Linked DNA regions of Homo sapiens: regions 1 and 3 are each linked to region 2. The links are contacts of gene promoters, found by promoter capture Hi-C in human tissues and cell types (Jung and others, 2019). All regions are on one chromosome and are shown on one strand. The core of a region is centred on a gene start or on the middle of the fragment in contact, and the rest is flanking DNA. Distances in the headings are between cores, read along the strand shown.

Evidence for each region. The method cuts DNA at HindIII sites, captures the fragments that hold promoters and counts their contacts. A contact is called where the count stands out against the background at its distance.
Region 1: a fragment that was not itself captured here is called in contact with the fragment with the promoter of PPM1E in region 2 in 1 of the 25 tissues and cell types used here (pancreas).
Region 3: a contact is called between a fragment that was not itself captured here and the fragment with the promoter of PPM1E in region 2, in 1 of the 25 tissues and cell types used here (adrenal gland).

What each region holds. Positions count from the first base shown.
Region 1 is chr17:58,710,470-58,713,967 of GRCh38, reverse strand. All of the region lies in intron 5 of RAD51C (RAD51 paralog C), which reads right to left. Among named protein-coding and RNA genes, the nearest start is that of RAD51C, 20 kb to the right of the region's middle. The HindIII fragment of the contact is 4,613 bases long and covers 1-3,498 here.
Region 2 is chr17:58,754,438-58,758,081 of GRCh38, reverse strand. It overlaps PPM1E (protein phosphatase, Mg2+/Mn2+ dependent 1E), which reads right to left and starts at 2,228. Exons shown (of 7, transcript NM_014906.5): 1 at 1,621-2,228. The coding sequence starts at 2,084. LOC105371843 (a long non-coding RNA gene) reads left to right here and starts at 1,972. Exons shown (of 3, transcript XR_007065866.1): 1 at 1,972-2,051. RefSeq lists silencers at 2,072-2,220, 2,220-2,409. The HindIII fragment of the contact is 13,854 bases long and covers 1-3,644 here.
Region 3 is chr17:58,788,015-58,791,763 of GRCh38, reverse strand. The region is part of intron 1 of PPM1E (protein phosphatase, Mg2+/Mn2+ dependent 1E); the gene reads right to left. Among named protein-coding and RNA genes, the nearest start is that of PPM1E, 34 kb to the right of the region's middle. The HindIII fragment of the contact is 7,145 bases long and covers 1-3,749 here.

The DNA of each region.
Region 1 (3,498 bases), core at 946-3,445, 44 kb after region 2:
AGGAGGTGGTTAAAAAAACTACGCTACAGGGTGGGCACAGTGGCTCATGCCTATGGAAGGCTGAAGCAGATGGATCCCTTAAGCCCAGGAGTTCAAGAACAGCCTAGGCAACATAGTGAGACCTCATCTCTACAAAAAACTTATTTATTTATTTATTTTGGAGCTAGAGTCTCACTGTGTCTCCCAGGCTGGAGTGCAACAGTGTGATCTTGGCTCACTGCAACCTCCACCTCCCGAGTTCAAGTGATTCTCCTGCCTCAGCCTCCCAAGTAGCTAGGACTACAGGTGAGCACCAACACACCTGGCTAATTTTTGTATTATTAGTAGAGACAAGGTTTCACCATGTTGGCAAGGCTGGTCTTGAACTCCTGACCTCAAGTGATCTGCTTGCCCTGGCCTCCCACAGTGGTGGGTTATAGGTGTGAGCCACCGTGCCCAGCCTCTACAAAAAATTTAAAAATTGGCTGGGTGTGGTGGTGTGTGCCTGTGGTCTCAGTTACTCAAGAGGCTGAGGTGAAAGGATTGCTTAAGCCCAGGAGATTGAGGCTACAGTGAACCAAGATCATGCCACTGCACTCTAGCCTGGATGACAGAGCGAGACCCTGTCTCATAAAAAAGAAAACCCAAAAACAAATACAAATACAAAAAAAACCTATGCTACAGTCATACAGCAAAATACTATGCAGCTGTTAGTGTAAAGCAGACTTATAAGTAGTGTACATGGAAAAAAAAAGTAGTATACATGGAAAGATGTTCACAATATATTAAGTGAAAAACAGAAAACTGCTTTGCATAATAGCATGTATAATATGACCTCATTTTCATTTCTTTTTGTGTTTTTGAAGACAGGGTCTTGCTCTGCTGCCTAGGCTGGAGTGCAGTGGTGCGATCTCAGCTCACTGCAACCTTTGCCTCCCAGCCTCAAGCAATACTCCCACCTCAGCCGCTTAAGTAGCTAGAACTATAGGTGCATGCCACTATGCTTGGCTAAGATTTTTTTAAAAATTTGTAGCGATGAAGTCTCACTATATTTCCCAGGCTGGTCTCAAACTCATGGGCTCAAGTGATCCTCCCACCTTGGCCTCCCAAAGTGCTGGGATTACAGGCGTGAGCCACTGCGGTGGCATGACCTCATTTTCTTTTTTTTTTGAGACGGAGTCTTGCTCTGTCGCCCAGGCTGGAGTGCAGTGGCGTATCTCAGCTCACTGCAAGCTCCGCCTCCCGGGTTCATGCCATTCTCCTGCCTCAGCCTCCCGAGTAGCTGAAATTACAGGCGCCCGCCATCAAGCCTAGCTACTTTTTTGTATTTTTAGTAGAGATGGGGTTTCACCGTGTTAGCCAGGATGGTCTCGATCTCCTGACCTCGTGATCTGCCCGCCTTGGCCTCCCAAAGTGCTGGGATTACAGGCGTGAGCCACCACACCTGGCCTATGACCTCATTTTCTAAAACGTAAGTTTGTATATGCATGAAGTCTGCAAAAATATTTACACCAGACAACAATATTTACACAATCTCTGAGTAATGAATAATCGCTTCCTACATTTTTTATTGTTTAGAACTTTTTTTTTCTTTTACAAAAAGCATACATAACTTAAAATTTCTTTTTTTTTTTTTTTTTTTTTGAGATGGAGTGTTGCTCTCTCGCCCAGGATGGAGTGCAGTGGCGCAATCTTGGCTCACTGCAACCTCCGCCTTCTGGGTTCAAATGATTCCCCTGCCTCAGCCTCCTGAGTAGCTGGGATTACAGGCATGCCACCACGCCTGACTATTTTTTGTATTTTTAGTAGAGATGGGGTTTCACCATGTTGGTCAGGCTGGTCTCGAACTCCTGACCTCATGATCCGCCCACCTCAGTCTCCCAAAGTGCTGGCATTACAGATGTGAGCCGCCGTGCCCGGCCAATTATTCTTATTTTATGTATTTTTTTTTTTAGAGATGGGGTCAAGCTTTGTTGTTCAGGCTGGTCTCAAACTCCTGGCTTCAGGCGGTCCTCCCACTTTGGCCTTCCAAAAGTGCTGGGATTACAGGTGTGAGTTACCACATCTGGCCTTAAAATTATAAAATACATTATCAAAAGCCATACATGTTATATATATGTTAATTGGGAAAAAAAACCTTCAAGCAAAGAAATTATAAAGTAAGAGAGGGAAAGTGTGTCCCTAACCCTACAAAATCCCATCCTTTGAAGAAGCCAAGTCTGGGCACAGTGGCTTATGCATGTAATCCTAGTACTTTAGGAGGCTGAGGCCGGCAGATGATCGCTTGAGCCCAACCTCCGCCTTCTGACCAGCTGGGCAACATGGTGAAACCCCATCTCTACAAAAAAAAAAATACAAAAATTAGCCGGGCATGGTGGCATGTGCCTCTAGTCTCAGCTACTAGGGAGGCTGAGGTGGCAGGATCACTTGAGCCCGAGATGTCGAGGCTGTGGCGAGCCCTGATTGTACCACTGCACTTCAGTAAGATTCTGTCTCCAAAAAAATAAAAAAGAAGTAGCCACTGTTAATGTTTTGGTCCTTTCAGATCTTTCTCTTCATATATACAAATATAAATGCATACATATAATTATAAGTTTTCTCTAAACTGAGGTAACATTAAATATATTTTATATACAACTTAAATTTCTTCACTCAATAACATATATGTATATATCTTCTTCCATGTTAGGACGTTTATATTTACATCACTCTTCTTAAACACTACCTACTATTTGATGTTATTGTTTGGATTGCTTTTTTAGTCGGAAAAGGTGAAGCTATTTCTGTTAAAAACATAAGGAACTATGCAACCTATTAGTCTTGAGTGCCCCCTACTGGAGGCTCTTCACTGATATTAACAAAAGGCTAAATTACAATTAATTTAAGCAAAAAGTAATTCAAACACAGGGCACTATGCTTTTCAGCATATGGCAAAAAAAATTGGAAATTCAAAGAAAAAAGTATGCTTTAAAATGACTTTACTGAGGAAGTTCTTTATTTACTTATGATGTATTACAGGTATGTGCTAAGGTCTCTCTAATTAAGGTAAAGACAAAGAAATCAAGTTAAGCAGTTTGACCTTACATCTTACTCCCAGACAAATGTGTGTATTTGTGTCAGTGGTGGGATGTGGATTCAGGGTGGGAAGTAATGGCAAACAAGCAGTTAAAGAGGAGTGAGGTAAAACTTTAAAAAAAAAAATCTCTTCCCTTCTGAGCCGATATTTACTTCTCTCCTCACATTTCAAATCTTCAAGAGTTATTTAGCTCTACCTCAAAGCATCTAGGTTGTTTACACCGGTTATGTTTCAATCCATCTGAATCTGTGATTACATACCACATAATAATCAAAGACTCAAAGGAGAAGAAAACCAGGGATGTTGGAAGAGTTAACCTGAAAAACATCCAAAGTATATTTAAACAAAGAAGACACTGCAATTAACAAAGGTGGCATTTCTTTATCAAACAAAGTCCTTTTTTTTTTTTTTTGCCTTGAGACGGAGTCTTGCTGCTGCCCAGG
Region 2 (3,644 bases), core at 979-3,478:
GTAAGAATTAACTGTCAAGATAGAGCCAGTCTGCTGCTAAGATAAATTCCCTTAATAAACATTTCCATTTTATTTTAAGCAGGGAGCTTTATCTTTAAATACTGTAAAAAATTACATCTCAGAAGCCCTTGTCTATGATAGTTCACAAAGACCAGATATACTCTAAAATGTTAATACTGTTTATCTCTGGGTGGTGGTATTACACGCCATTTTATATTTTACGTTTCTCAAAAAGCATCATTACCTTGCTAATTGACGGTAATACTGTAATTGAACAGTATTTTAAAATTAAATTTTAGATAGCTTATATTATGAAATACCAACACAGTCCACTTCTATGGAAGATTTGTTAAATGATTTTCCCCTATTGATAAACTGCTGCTTTAACAGGAGAATGATCTGATCAGGTGTCTATTAGCTTGGATGAAGACAAAACAGGTTTACTTTCCAGGCCCTTCTTTTCTTTAGGCTTTTGAGAAAATCCCAAAAGTGAGTTTGAACTTAATTACAGCGAATCTTGCAGTAGTAAACTTTTTGGGTGGCCAGAGTAACACCTTTCATTACAACTATCAGCTGAATGGCAAAAGACTTCCCAGGTTTACCAATGTTTTCAGAGACTTACTAGTATTCTCCTCTGTCATTATTTCGGAACAATTCCATTGAGAAACGCAATTGTAAACCGTTTCTATTTCAGGCCTATAAAAACCAGAACTGGGATGAAAGGCAAAGCCTTGACCTTTCTATTTTAGACTTTCATCTGTGTAGCTAAGCCATCTGCTTTCTCCCCACCCCATCCCATCTACTTAATGGACTGAAAATACTGCACCTAATTGCAATTTAATCAAAACAGCCTGACTTTTCCACTTTAATGAATTATGGCTCTTTCACCCGAAGGCTTGCTTGCAAAATTTTGCTTACCCTTCCCTCTCAATTCCTTCCCACTTCCCTCAATTATGGAATGTCAAATGTCTAAACTAAGAGACTAGGCTTCCCTGTGTGAAAACATCTAAAAAGCCCTTCACTTTCAACACTGAGCACCTGACGGAAAATCTACTCCATTCTCTCATCTGGATACGGGGCCGGTATAACCATCATTGTTGCAGTTACGCAGGAGGCACCTCGCAGCTCAGTCTAGAAAGGAGTCGCGTCTCTGCCGCCAAACAACAAGGCACTCAGCCCGGGAAAAGACAGACTGGGGTGGGAGGAAACCTCCCGGAGAAAGAAGGGATCTGGGAAGAAGAGGGAGCTCAAGCCTGGGAGGAAGGACCTTTCCAGGCAGGAAAGGGAAAGGTTGCGTGAAGTGGAGCTAGAAGCTGGGGGCCGAGGTGAAAGGGGATGAGGGGCCCGGGCCCGGCGGGAGGGCGCCGGGGCTCAGGAGAGCGGCTTCAAGGCCGGGTAGGAGGCGTGGGGGCCGAGGCGGGCGTGGGGGCCGAGGCGGGCGTGGGCAGCTCTCAGCCGACCGCCCGGGTCCGAGCAGCGGGGGCGCTTTCAGCGGCGGCAGGCGCGGGTGCGGGGGAGAGGAGCAGAAAAGAGAGCAGTTTGAGGGGCCGAGGGAGCCGCGTCCGAGGCCGGCGCGGTGGGGACCGCGGGCCCACCACCAGCCAAGCCCAGCTACTTAACTATTTGTAGAGCTGCTGCAGGCACAGGTCCAGGCTTTCGCCCTCCACCTCCTCGCGGGTGATGCGCTCTGACAGCGGTCGCGGGAGCGGGGGCAAAGGCGGCAGCTGGGGCGGCGGCGGCGGCACGGCCGAGTGCCCCGGGGCTGCCGCCGCCGTCGCCGCGCCCTCCTCCTCCTCCTCACCCTCAACCGCCGCCTCCTCCTCGGGCTCCGGGTCTTGCTCCTGGTCCCCCTCCTCCGTCGCGGCTACCGTGGCCGCCTCCTCCCCGGGTTCCTCTACCGAAGCCTCGGCCGCCTCAGCTTCTACCAGTTCAGGTTCGGGCTCGGGCTCGGACTCGGGTTCGGGTTCGGGTTCGGGTTCGGGTTCCGGCTCCGGCTCGCCGCCGCCGCACGGTCCGCGAAACTCGCCCAGGAATAGCTCCAGGAAGCGCCGGTAAGTTTTCTCCTCAGGGATGCAGCCGGCCATCGCTGCTCATGCCCCAGGGCAGACCGGGAAAGGGGTTGGGGGAAGCCCAGGAAGGGTAAGGGGCTGCTTTTGAGCCTAGGGCTCCGGCAAGGGCGGTTAACGGCCGCACCGGCACGAGCGATCAGCACTAGGTTGCCTGGAGAGGGCTCCCGCAGGCGTGCGCGCCGCCGAGCACCGACGTGCGCGGCCCGGGGGCGGAGCGCGCCGCCCCTCTCGGATCTGGAGGGAAAGTTGGTGGCGGGCGCGCGCAGGGTCCAGCGGCGGCCCACCCTTTATTCCTACGGAGAGCTCAGCCCACGCTGCCTAGAGACTGTCGCCATGGCAACCGGTTCTAATTAAGCATTGCAGGGTCCCTCCCGTCGAGTCCGCGGAGTCTAAAGGACACTCCACTCGCCCGCTCTCCAACTCTGAATGTCTTTATTGGTTGGATACCCTACCCTCACGTGGTTAAGAGTGAGCTAAGACATCTCCAAGTCTAGCTGTTGGTTCCCACTTGGGTTGCTTGGATCCCAATTGGATGTACTTCCATTTCCTTATCTGTTCCTTGCCTTAGCGTATGTTTTGAAAGATACCACACTGTGAACACCTTTTGTTGCAGTCTTTGAATAAGTAGTTTTCAGGCAGAGGGAGCTTCAAATACCTACCAAGTGATAAGTTCCTTTGCATAGGTTCTCTCTCACTTGATTCTGTGAAGAAAGTGGTGTTACTCTCATTTCTTAAAAGGAAACTGAAAATTATGATATTAATGGTAATTTACTTGTTTCAAGGTCTCCAAACTTCCAGCCTTGGCGTTGGAGAACTCAGGTCGTTCAGTCGCCAAAGCTTTCCGAAAGTGCATTTTTCCTTAACTCAACTCTGTCTCCGGAGATTCAATAGTGCAATTGTCTGTATAACACCTTATTTCTATTGGGCTTCATAGTTTACACATTGATTTCACCCTTTTAATTCTTACCACAGTCCCTTGAGGTATAGGACGTTACCGTTATGATTTTTTTTTTTTTGAGACAATCTCGCTCTTGTCACCCAGGCTGGAGTGCAGTGGCGCGATCTCAGCTCACTGCAACCTCCGCCTCTCGGGTTCAAGTGATTCTCCTGCGTCAGCCTCCCAAGTAGCTGGGATTACAGGGGCCTGCCACCACCCCCGGCTAACTTTTGTATTTTTAGTAGAGACGGGGTTTCACCATATTGGCCAGGCTGGTCTCAAACTCCTGACCTCAGGTGATCTGCCTGCCTCAGCCTCCCAAAGTGCTGGGATTACAGGTGTGACCCACCACGCCGGCCAATTATTCCATTTTATAGGTGAGAAAACAGCCTTAAAGACATGGTGACTTTGCTCAAGGTCACATGCAAGGGATGCAACAAGGACTCAATCCAGGTCTTTTCACTGGATTCACCCACTTCAATGGATTTTACCCATTAGTTTTCAGGCAACCAAGACTCCCCTCTTTAGTCTCTGCATAATGCATATTATACTTCATTATATAATATGTATTTTTTCTTTTCTCTTTCTTTTTTTTTTGAGACGGAGTTTTGCTCTTGTTGCCCAGGCTGTAGTGCAAT
Region 3 (3,749 bases), core at 46-2,545, 35 kb before region 2:
GCGTAACCTCCATACATGTGATGTAGCCCATTATGATTAAATCCCCAAAACTCAAAGGCATCACCTATAACCTCTGGCAGGAAAATACTGCCCTATTCACATCGATCCTGGGTGTAGGTATTCAGTCCAGAAAACCTGGAATTTTGTGCTTGGGTAGGATGTGGTATTCCTATACAAGTGGATAAAGAGGAAAGTTTTGCTGTTAATAAAGTAATTCTTAACCTTTTTGGAGTTACGGACTTCTCTGAGACACTAATAAAAGGTCTTCGTTATTACTTCAGAAGATATTGAGCATATATGCCACGTGCTGGGGACACAGTTAAAAATAGGACAGTATCTGCTCTCACCAAATGCAGAGTTGAGCAGAAAGACAAAACATTATTAAACAATTGTATGTTGCCATCTCCGAATCATCTAAATTAGGTTTTCCTTTTATTCCTGTTCATGTCCATTATAGCATTTATCATAATCTGATAATCTGATAATTTACATTCTGGTTAGATAACCAAAATGTATTATACTGCTGCATAATAAACCACTCAAATTTAGTGGCTTAAAACAATTCATTCTCAGGCCAGGCACGGTGGCTCACACCTGTAATCCCTGCACTTTGGGAGGCTGAGGTGGGTGGATCACTTGAGGTCAGGAGTTCAAGACCAGCCTGGCCAACATGGTGAAACCCCATCTCTACTAAAAATACAAAAAAATTAGCCGGGCAGGGTGGCGGGCACCTGTAGTCCCAGTTACTCCGGAGGCTGAGGCAGGAGAATCACTTGAGCCCAGGAGGTGGAGGTTGCAGTGAGCTGTGGTGGTGCCACTGTACTCCAGCCTGGGCAACAGAGTGAGACTCCATCTCAAAAAAAAAAAAATTTATTATCTCTCAAGATTTTGTGGATTGACAAAGCTCAGATCTGTAGTTCTCGATCTTCTCACACATGAATGCAGTAAGACAGTAGGGGGCATGAAGTCATCTAAAGGCTGGACTGGACTGGATGTTCACAATGGGTCACTCACAGGACCAGTTGATTCTGGCCATTGAAGTTCAGCTGGGGCTATTGATCAGCGTTACCTACACAAGGCCTCTCCATGTGGCTTGAGCTTCTTGCAACAGAGTGACTGGGTTTTAAGAGGGATTATCTCAAGAAAAATATTTCCAGAGACCCAGACACAAGCTTTACAGCCTTAAGGTCTAGCCTCAAAGTTCCAAAATGTTTATTTCTGCCACATTCTATTGACCAGCCCAGATTCAAGGAGAGGGGAATTAGACTCTATTTCTAGACATGAAAAATAGCATGCATATACACAAAGAGAAGGAACTGATGATGTCCATTATAGACCATCATAACTGGCCATGTATTTGTTTAATACCTGCCTTTCTCACTAGATCATAAACTCAAGACAAGAGCCGCGCTGGGCACAGTGGCTCATGTCACCAGTTTTGAAAGGCCACAGTGGGTGGATTGCTTGAGGCCAGAAGTTCCAGATCAGCCTGGGCAACATGGTAAGACCCTGGCTATCCAAAAAAAAAAAAATTTTAATTAGCTAGGCATGGTGGCATACACCTGTAGTCCTAGCTACTCAGGAGGCTGAGGCAGAAGGATCCCTTGAGCCCAGGAGTTTGAAGCTGTAATGAACTATGATCACGCTAAGGAACCATATCTGCTCCTTTTCAGTGCTGCTTACATCATCACAGTTGCTGGAACAGAGTAAGCCCTCAATAAATGCAATAAATATTTGCTCAACTAACTTATTTATTCAATAAAAATTTCAAAAATGCATAAAAACTGTCAAAAATTGTGCTAGAATGAAAATTCTATAGTGCCTGCCTTCAAGAAATTTACTTTCTGGTGGCAGAATGAGACAACCAAAGCCTACAAAATTAGGCTTCTTGATAAAATGAGATTATGGGACTAAACTATAATGCTTGCTGAATGTCTGACACAGGCAACAGTGTTCTTGTGTGTCACATCAAAAGGTAATAATAGGCAGGTATTTGCATTTTATATATATATATATATATATAAATGACTCTCAGATGTGATCCATATATATGTGCAAAGGATCACATCGGAGAGTCATCTAAGAAAGAATGAAAATAAAGATGCCTTTTGTTCAAATAGCAGGCAGCTGTCAAGTGAGCAAGAAAAGCACTAGTGGATCATAGCTGATTCTTCTGATACTACATCCTATGTTAAGTCAGAGATTAGCTAGTGAATTTTGCAGAGCTCCTGGGATTACCTCACGGAGACACATGATGAAAGCAGTGTAAATTTAACCTACTACTAGAAAGAAGAATGTAATCAGAAAAATAAAGTTAGAAGGCAATGAGTAATGAAGACTGAACTGGGGTGGCCGCAGCAAGAATGAAGACTAAATCTGAGACATGTTTCAAAGGAAAAAGTGACAGAAATAGATGAATAACTAAATAGGGGTGGGATGGAAAAGAATGAGGTATGAGCCTGAAGAAACCTAAAGAGGTGCTATTTGATGTGGAACAAGGCAGAATCTTTATTGGATATACTGAAATGAAAAGTAAAATGTTTCTTATGTTCTTAGAATTACGGGCTTGAGCTCTGGTAACAGTGTAGAGCTGGAGGTGTAGAAGTCAGTATAAACAAACTTCTAGAGAAAAGATCACTTAATTGCTTTTATTAGTCAATCTTTCAGTCCAAAACAGATGTACATTTTATGTATTAGGCTTGATAGTCCATTTTGTGATATGCCATTATGAATATTCTCAATTTTGAGGATCTGAAGGCAGTGTAACTGAAGCATCTGTCAATTCATTATTAGGATTAACTCAGCTAATCTGGCTGCTTAGGTGAGTTCTGGATCACTGACTAAAATTATTAAAAATCATTTCAAGTAAAGGTCAAGTCACTGAATTCACTTCTTTAACTCTTTAGTTGATCAGTTTCAATCTGTATAAAGCATGAAAAGGAATGTTCAATTTGTCTGCCCTAACTCCCTGCTATTGTTGCCAGAGACTGAGGCGGCAGAAAAAGGAAGAGGATCAGACTTAAAGTCTTAGTCTTTAAATTCTGCACTGACAAAAAATACGTTCATTGCTATTATATCCTTGAATATGAGAAATTCTTTTCTGTCCACCTCCTCCTAAACAGCAGCAGATAATTGGAGCAGAAACAAATTGAACATTCTTTTAAATGTTACCAAGAAGATGAAAACTGATCAACTAAAACTAGTTTAAAAGAAGTAAATTCAGGGAATTGGCATTTCATAAAATGGATGGCTTCTGCTAAGTAAATGTACCTTCTTCCCTCACAATAGTATGTGAAACTATACCCGTAGTGAAAGAGTACCGTTGTAGCAGACTGAAGTGACTCTTCTGTCAAGGGCATACAAATACCTCCAGTCACCTTGTTAATCTGTATACACTCTAACTCTTTGGATGAAAATCAAGGAAAGAAAGAGTTTATACAGACCCAGCACTTTGGGAGGCCGAGGCAGGTGGATCACTTGAGGTCAAGAGTACGAGATCAGCCTTGCCAACACGGTGAAACCTCGTCTCTACTAAAAGTTCAAAAATTAGCTGGGTGTGGTGCCGAGCGCCTGTAATCCCAGCTACTTGGGAGGCTGAGGCAAGAGAATCGCTTGAACCTAGGAGACAGAGGTTGCAGTGAGCTGAGATCGGGCTACTGCACTCCAGCTTGGGCGACAGAGTAAGACTCCATCTCAGGGAAGAAGAAAAAAAGTTTATACAGTTTGATGTGCTGAAAGACTGCAAAAAT